Regions from separate parts of the Homo sapiens genome. Here all the other regions are linked to region 3. The links are contacts of gene promoters, found by promoter capture Hi-C in human tissues and cell types (Jung and others, 2019). All regions are on one chromosome and are shown on one strand. The core of a region is centred on a gene start or on the middle of the fragment in contact, and the rest is flanking DNA. Distances in the headings are between cores, read along the strand shown.

What was found. Contacts are between HindIII fragments. The study calls those that stand out against the background at their distance.
Region 1: a fragment that was not itself captured here is called in contact with the fragment with the promoter of TUSC1 in region 3 in 1 of the 25 tissues and cell types used here (H1 embryonic stem cells).
Region 2: a contact is called between a fragment that was not itself captured here and the fragment with the promoter of TUSC1 in region 3, in 1 of the 25 tissues and cell types used here (bladder).

What each region holds. Positions count from the first base shown.
Region 1 is chr9:25,727,565-25,730,264 of GRCh38, reverse strand. No RefSeq gene overlaps it. Among named protein-coding and RNA genes, the nearest start is that of TUSC1, 50 kb to the right of the region's middle. The HindIII fragment of the contact is 6,496 bases long and covers 1-2,700 here.
Region 2 is chr9:25,642,153-25,644,852 of GRCh38, reverse strand. No RefSeq gene overlaps it. Among named protein-coding and RNA genes, the nearest start is that of TUSC1, 35 kb to the left of the region's middle. The HindIII fragment of the contact is 3,505 bases long and covers 1-2,700 here.
Region 3 is chr9:25,677,071-25,680,000 of GRCh38, reverse strand. It overlaps TUSC1 (tumor suppressor candidate 1), which reads left to right and starts at 1,557. Exons shown (of 1, transcript NM_001004125.3): 1 at 1,557-2,930. The coding sequence starts at 1,689. The coding sequence ends at 2,318. The HindIII fragment of the contact is 15,020 bases long and covers 1-2,930 here.

The DNA.
Region 1 (2,700 bases), core at 51-2,550, 51 kb before region 3:
GAATTTGCAACTGATGGCCAAACCTGGTCTTCATTTCCAGGCCTGCTTTCTTGGGTCTCCACAGGTTATTATTGTTACAAATTATATTTAAATCTCTTTAGTTTAGATAGGCTCTCACAGATATTTAATTTCTACTTATCTTGCCCTAATTTCTCTTACTTGCCTGAACTTTTGCATAAATGTTATTTTGAGGTCTTCACTTTAAAACTTCTTTTTTTGTGAAGCTGGACAGAAAGATATCACATGTAGAGAGCACATTAAGTTGATCCCTCTACTGAAGTAATTTTACTGATTTTAACTGTGTCATAATACTATTAAGCTATATTGAATACCATATTAAAAATAGCTCCATAACAGTCAACGTTGTATTTACTATCAGTCTGTCGTTAATTATGTTATTATATAATATGGAATCCTCTCTAGGAAAACCTATAAGGTAAATGCATTTTACCATTTACTGGAATAATTGTCTTTCTTAAACAATTGGCTTGTTTCTACACTATAGGTGCTGTGGCTGGCGTTATTGATTTTATTTTCTTCTGTCACATCTAGAGAACTTAGAATTAATTTTATGTCTTCCTTGAGCAAGGATGCAGGGCCTTGTTTTCTATGTTTTGTGTGTTCAACACATTACTGCCTCTATCTTGCTTTTCTGAATTTACTTTTATTCCCATTTTATTTACCTATTTATGCAGCTATATAAGTCTTCATAAATCCTGTTCATATACAGTAATATGCCTCTGCAAATCGATAAGAAAATGTTATATTGTTCCCATTACATATTATGAATTCCATCTTTACATGCTTTTGAGTTAATATTCTATTGTTATATGTTTATACCTGGAAATAGTGGACCTCAGTTTTCCATCAGAATCAAGAATCTACTACCCAGATTGGGCAAAACCTGTAAACAGAATGCCTACAAAATTTGATTTTGAGAAATTTCTTTATGTTTAAATATGCTGCACATTACGATAGCAAGAGAACTTGAGTCAGATCATTTTTTATTTTAGTCTAAATTTCTTTTTCAAGTCTCTGTCTCTTTTTAGATTCCAGGTATCTGAATGTGACAGCCTAGATGGAAATCTGCATGATTATTTAGTTCTATATGTCCTTCTTTTTAAAATAAATATTTTTGTTGTTTTAATGTTCTCAATGACTATGTAATAATATATATGAGTCCATAAGCTTTCTAGACATAGATGATCTTGATCAAATTGATCAAATAAATAATTTAATCAATTCAGCAAAATTACTAACTTAAAGTGTTCAGTCTTTGTTTTCTTTATCCACCAAACTGGCCTACAGTTTCATTTACTTCACTGACCTTACTAGTTGCTTGAGCCTCAGATTGACAGCCTAATGTACACACCAATAAATTCAAATTATTTTTTGTATACTTTGTACTTTTGTCTGTCTTGCCTGTTGTGAACACATATAAACTCAGGTACATACATCACAATAGTAAAATTAATCAGTATTTTTGTGTACTAAAGAAATTAAACATAAGCCAAGTGCACTACGTTTCAGGGCCTGCAATGTTTGCATATTCCAAGAATATGTACAGATACAGAACTTCACAGAAATACAAAGAAGTTGTAATCATAGTATCACATAGTGATAATGTAGGCCCAAGTTCTCATTTTCCAAATAAGAGAAAGCAATGATTTATCTCTACCTTTCAGTGGATTAAAATTAATAATTAGAGAAATCCAGAACTGATGCCTTATCAAATTCCAGAAACTGTGCACACTGCAAGAGGCACAGAGGTGAGATACATACAGTGGTTGAGGACTTACTGTTAGGAGGGGGGATAAGTGGAGGATCACAATAAAAGTGGAAAAAATGCTAAAACCAAGGGATATTTAACTGTCATTGAAATAGAAGCAGCATGAAGCAGGAGCACCTATCTCATCATTGAAATATTAGGGAATGCTGAGTTTGTTTGTTTGTTTTGAGACGGAGCGTTGCTCTCTCACCCAGGCTGGAGGGCAGTGGTGCGATCTGGCTCACAGCAACCTCCACCTCTTGGATTCACACGATTCTCTGGCCTCAGTTTCCCCAGTAGCTGGGACTACAGGCACGCAGCACCACACTCAGCTATTTTTTTTTTTGTTGTTATTTTTAGTAGAGACAGGGTTTTACCATGTTGGCCAGGCTAGTCTCAAATTCCTGGCCTCAAGTGATCCAACTGCCTCAGCCTCCCAGTGTGCTGGGATTACAGGCGTGAGCCACCACACCCGGCCTCTAGGGAGTGCTTTTGAGAAGGGATGACTCTGGAGCTGTGTCTTGAATGCAGTGAAGTGGATATGTGAGGAAGAATATTCCAGCAAGAGAAAGGCCTTGCTTAAATCACGTAAGTGTGAAAGAGCACTATGCTTTGAAGACTTAGCAGTAGATTCACAGGACTGGTAAAAATAATGCATGTACCCTCACAGGAGGACCATAGGAGAACCTCCTAATTATATGAGTTCAAGCAAGTTTCCCAGAGACTCTGGGCCTCTATTTCCTTTCTTAAATGTGTGGTAGTGCTTAATGCCTACCTTGCGGCATTATCTCCACAGCAGGAGAAGAAGCTGGAAGGCAGGCAGGGTAGAGAAAAATCCTGGTCCAACCAGATGAGAAAGTCTAAACTTATCCTAAATGCAAGTGGGAGCAACTGGTAGACTTTAAGCTCGAAAAAGTTTGTGTTTAAAAAAA
Region 2 (2,700 bases), core at 6-2,505, 35 kb after region 3:
AGAATTAACTTGTCAGTTTCTAAAAATATTTAACTTTGATTCATATATTGAATCTATATATAAATTTGTAGATCTCATAGTCCATGAGAGTGATCTATCCTTTGAGACATTTTAAATATATTTCAATAAAATTTTATATTTTTTACATAGCATTTACATATGTTTTCTTAGAAATTTCTTAAGTGCTTTACATTTGATAGCAATGATACATGATAGATATGATGATGATGATGATGAATGATGATTACTATATTCTGTGTTTCCTACTGGTGCACAGAATTTAATTTTATTGTAGTATATTGATGCCATGTATTCAGGCATATTGTTAAACTTATTATTTCTACACTTTTTTCTGTAATGCTTTTGATGTTTCAAAGTAGTAATTACAGCATCTGTGAATAATAATTTTTATATTGTTTACAATTCTAATAATCTTATTTTTTCCCTTTCTTTACCATGGTAAGACTTCCAAAAGCATGTGAAATAGAAGCAATTATAATGTACATCTTTACCATATTTTGTTTTTAAAAGGTCTGTTTTTAGGAAGATAACACTTTTTCTAGCTCTTTTTCATTTTTGCTAGTTTACACTTTGTGAAAACTTTCATAATGAATGTATTGAATTTTATTTTCTATAAAGATTGAGATGATCATACAGTATTCTCCTTTAATTTGCCAAGAAGCTAAAAAACCCACACATATTAAACCGCCCTTGTATTACTGGATTGACCTGGATTGATCATGGTGTACTATATTTCCTATGTAATGAATTTAGCTCTCTAAAACCTTGACATTTGCATCTATGCTCATGAGTAAGCTTGGCTTGTAGTCTATTACTTAAATGAAATTTATCATTTTATATTAAAATCTGCTTTTACTTTCTCACACTCCCTTCATACTCCACTTAAACTGCTCCCCTAATTTCAGTTAGTTTATACTTGCCAGCACTTCAGAGTTAAATAAATAATCCTTCGATTTTATCGATTTAACCCATCATAATGGATTTGGATTCTTTTCAGTTAGTTTGACCTTTTTCTTAGAAATAATGGCATTTTGTGGATACTGACGAAACCTAGAATAGACAAAGGCAAAGCTTTCTCATTTACTTGGGGAATTTTAGCAAATTTGATATAGGACCTATAAGACATTGGAGGACTCTATAGGAAACACAACTTGGCTCCTTACCCAATTTCAACACAGGTACTGTTTGACTAAGATTTGTTTAAATACAACACAAAAACAAACAACACTTTTTCTATAATTTATAGTAGGGTAAGAGGTTTATATGTTCATCTTTTCTAATGTCTTATTTTTATTCAGGTGTCTGAGGCCAACAGAATGGCTAAGATGCATTCTGGTGTTTCTAATTATATCTCTGTTCTATCACAACTATTATTTTTGCTAGGAATATAATTTTACTCCTCTTCCCTGCCCCCAAATTAAATATATTAACTTTAATTTTGCTTTGTTAGTTGTGAAAAAGAATGATAGGAAACATTTTTCTTTATGATTCCTGACTATTGACTCTTTCCTCCACTGCATTATTTTTTTCATTAAGATTATTTGAGGGTAGTAAAATAGTGCTATATATATATATAGTGTATATATGTATTACTGACAAACTAATAAATAAAAATTTTATTTTTTATCAATCCATGCATTTTCATTGCAGGATTGACTATGAAATAGGAAGCCACTTATATTTCTAAGGAGAATTTTGCCTCATAATTACCAGTCATGAAAATATTACTTCTATTATATAGATAACTATACCAATTTTAAAGGTTCATTTTAGAAGGCATTATTAATTGCCATTAGTGTTTAGCTGACTTCTGTTAAAAATGAAGATTATAAATTTCATTTAAGCTTTCATAATTCTGACAGATTTTCTGAAATAATGTTCTGTTTTTCCCACAAAATTAGTCCTGGGTTTCCTTACCTTGGTGATATTTCAGTAGCATTGCTTCAGCATTGTTATAGATAGGTATATGTCATTGCAATATTATTTGTTTGTTTTGTTTCCATGTGAAACTTTACTGTCTCTATGAAAAAAAAAAAAAACTATAAAATTCAGGACAAAATCTTGTCTTCTTTTTTTTATTATTCCAAACTCCTCATACTATACATGTGACTTATAGGAATTAAAGTGTGAACTCAATATATTGTGTCTGTGCGGTTAAATTTTCTACTATGAAAGTTAAATCTGGTAATCAGTTAAATATAATTATTTCATCAATGTGCCAGGTACTGTGTTAGGTATTAGGAGTGTTGCTATCAATAAACCAACCAGTTGCTACTAGTAATATATTTACAAAATGTGTTTGTATTCGTTTCTTCTTCCTGCTGTAACAAATTACCACCGACGTGGTCACTTAAAATAACACAAATTTATCTTACAGTTCTTGATGTTGCGAGTATGAAATTGGTCTCAATGGACTAAAATAGAGGGAATGGCAGGAATATGTTTTTTCTGAAGGCTCTAGGGCAGGGGTCCCCAACTCTGGCCACTGATAGGTACAGATCTGTGGCCTGTTAGGAACCTGGCCGCATACAAGAAGTGAGTGGCAGGCCAGCCAGCATTACTGCCTGAGCTCTAGCTCCTGTCAGATCAGTGGCGGCATTAGATTCTCAAAGGAGCACGAACCCTATTGTGAACTGCACATGTGAGGTATCTAGGATGCACACTCCTTATAATAATCTA
Region 3 (2,930 bases), core at 308-2,807:
GTGATCATAGCTCACAGCAGTCTTGCAGCCTCAACCTTAATGTAAATTAAGAATGATACAGTCCTTCTTGAGTCTCTTGAACCCGGAAGGTGGTGGTGGCAGTGAGCAGAGATGGCGCCATTGCACTCCAGCCTAGGCAACAAGAGCGAAACTCCCATCTCAAGAATGATATGCTCCTTTTTTTTTTTTTTTTTTTTTTTGAAAAGGAGCCTTGCTCTGTCGCCCAGGCTGGAGTGCAATGACGCAATCTCAGCTCACTGCAAACTCTGCCTCCCGGGTTCAAGTGATTCTCCTGCCTCAGCCTCCCGAGTAGCTGAGACTACAGGCCCGTGCCACCACGCCCGGCTAATTTTTGTATTTTTAGTAGAGACGGGGTTTCATTGTGTTAGCCAGGATGGTCTTGATCTCCTGACCTTGTGATCCTCCCGCCTCGGCCTCCCAAAGTGCTAGGATTACAGGCGTGAGCCACCACGCCCGGCCTGGAATGTGGTCCTTCTTAAAACTAAATTTATATTTTTTGAAATTCCAAAATTATATCTTTCATGTGATAAAATGAGATAATTGAGAACACATTTGGTGTTGTGGTCTCTTAAGATCTTGCCTAACAAAATAAAAGTACAAAAAAATTGAGCAAATATTTTCCCCTTATTTGTACTTGTCAATGAAGACCCCATGTATGTACTTATATGTTTTTCTTGTTCGTTACTTGCTCCAGTGGTTTGGAAATTTTGGTTATCCTGAGAATTCTCTGGGACCCTGTTAGACATGTAGATTCTTGCTAGGGCATACTTGCTTAAGAGATTCTGGCGTCAGTACCTAATCCTTAAATTACTTTGCAATCATCCAGTTACTATGTAGGTTGAGACCCTACAAGAAGGAATGATTCATTCAATGAGATGTACATCCTTGATCCCAGAAACTTTGGAACTAAGTATTCAGTTTCTTCAATAAACAGAGCACTTCTTGTTTCATAGCTTTTGGGGGTTGGCCTGAACAAATCAACTAAGTATGACCTAGTTTCTATAGCGTTCTGAACAATTTACAGAGTGAATTCCTGGCTGTTCACAAATTGGGAATTGACTGCATTCTTTGGAGAGCCAGGTGTTTCCACCGGGAAACCCCATGACAGGTACTCAGCCCAATTCTGTTTAATGTTTTATTAAACATAGGGGTGGGTTAAACCACTGGGTTTTAAATGAAGCACTTAGAGCTTTTCAACTTGCCCCATAGCTTTGTCTCAGAACCGATCATTCTATTATCATTAGTTTTGAGAATGCCGTGTAAAGAGCAAAGTAACCACTGGTGGTTGCACTCCGGAGCGGGCGAGGACGGCTAGTTCCTGCAGTGCCCAGGCCTGCACGGAAGCGCCCTGGCACAACTCAGCTGAGGATACACGCTTTTTCCCGCGCAGCCGGAGGGCTGAACAGCAAAGCACTCCCCGGGGGAACTGTGTGTCAGCGCAGCCTGGAGAGAGCAGGCCCAGGGGGCAGCTCCACCACAGGAGACAGGACACGCCTCAGTCTGGGCAAATTCCCGGCCTCCTTTGGCTCTAAGCCAGCAGCCGCCGCCCGCGACCTCCTCTCCTCCTCCGTCGTCACCCCGGCCGCCCTGCCAGCCCCGAACTTGCCCGCGCCTGGCCGCGCGGCCCCTCAGCCCACGGGGCTGGCGGCGCGGTTGGGATGGGACCGATGTGGCGCATGCGTGGTGGCGCCACTAGGCGCGGGAGTTGCTGCGGCGGGGACGGTGCTGCGGACGGCCGAGGGCCAGGCCGCTCCGGCCGGGCTCGTGGTGGGGGCAGCCCCAGCGGCGGCGGCGGCGGCGTGGGCTGGCGAGGCCGCGCGGACGGCGCCCGACAGCAGCTGGAGGAGCGGTTTGCCGACCTGGCGGCGAGCCACTTGGAGGCCATCCGTGCGCGGGACGAGTGGGACCGGCAGAACGCGCGGCTGCGTCAGGAGAACGCCCGGCTGCGGCTCGAGAACCGGCGGCTGAAGCGCGAGAACCGCAGCCTCTTCCGTCAGGCTTTGCGGCTCCCCGGCGAAGGCGGCAACGGGACGCCCGCGGAGGCACGCCGGGTCCCTGAAGAGGCCAGCACGAACCGGAGGGCTAGAGACAGCGGCCGAGAGGACGAGCCGGGCAGCCCCAGGGCCCTGAGGGCCCGACTTGAGAAGCTGGAAGCCATGTACCGCCGGGCCCTGCTGCAGCTGCACCTCGAGCAGCGGGGACCACGTCCGAGCGGGGACAAGGAGGAGCAGCCTCTACAGGAACCCGACTCCGGCCTCCGCTCCCGGGACTCGGAGCCCTCTGGGCCCTGGCTGTAGCCGAGGCCGCAGCCGGTGAGAGGCGGAGCCTCGAGCGGGCCCCTCCTCCTCCGTTCCCAGCTACCCCCGACCTCGCGCACGCCCTGGCCCGCTCCCTGCCCGCGGATACCTTGGACTACGGTGCCTTCCCGCCCCCACCAGTGGACACTTCCGGGTGGCGCTTGGCCATCCGCTTGGTGGAGGTCGAGTGGGTGCAAGGGCCCTCAGGACCTCCCACATGTACAGTTCCCCTGCCTCTTGCCCCGGCTAGTTTCCCTGGAGAGAGGCCTAGCCAACAACGAAGGGACGGATTTTAAAACAGCGAGAACTGGGTGCCAAGAAACACTTCATATTCCCTGAACTTTTCTGGATGTTGTGCGAACCTGTTGTATTTTTTTTTTTCCTGTATTTTGGTTCTGAGGGATGAGTAATGTGTTTTTAGTTGGTTGAGTTTATCCATTCTTCAATCCCCTAAAGCCTTCAGCTATTCTTTCATATGTGGCCAACATTTTAAGTACAGTGTTTGCTTTTATAAGTCGGTGTTACTTGGATGTCCTATAAAATACCCACTTTTTATAAAGATGATATTTATAACCTAGGAACTCATGCCTGTCTTGGCTGCAGTCCCTGTAC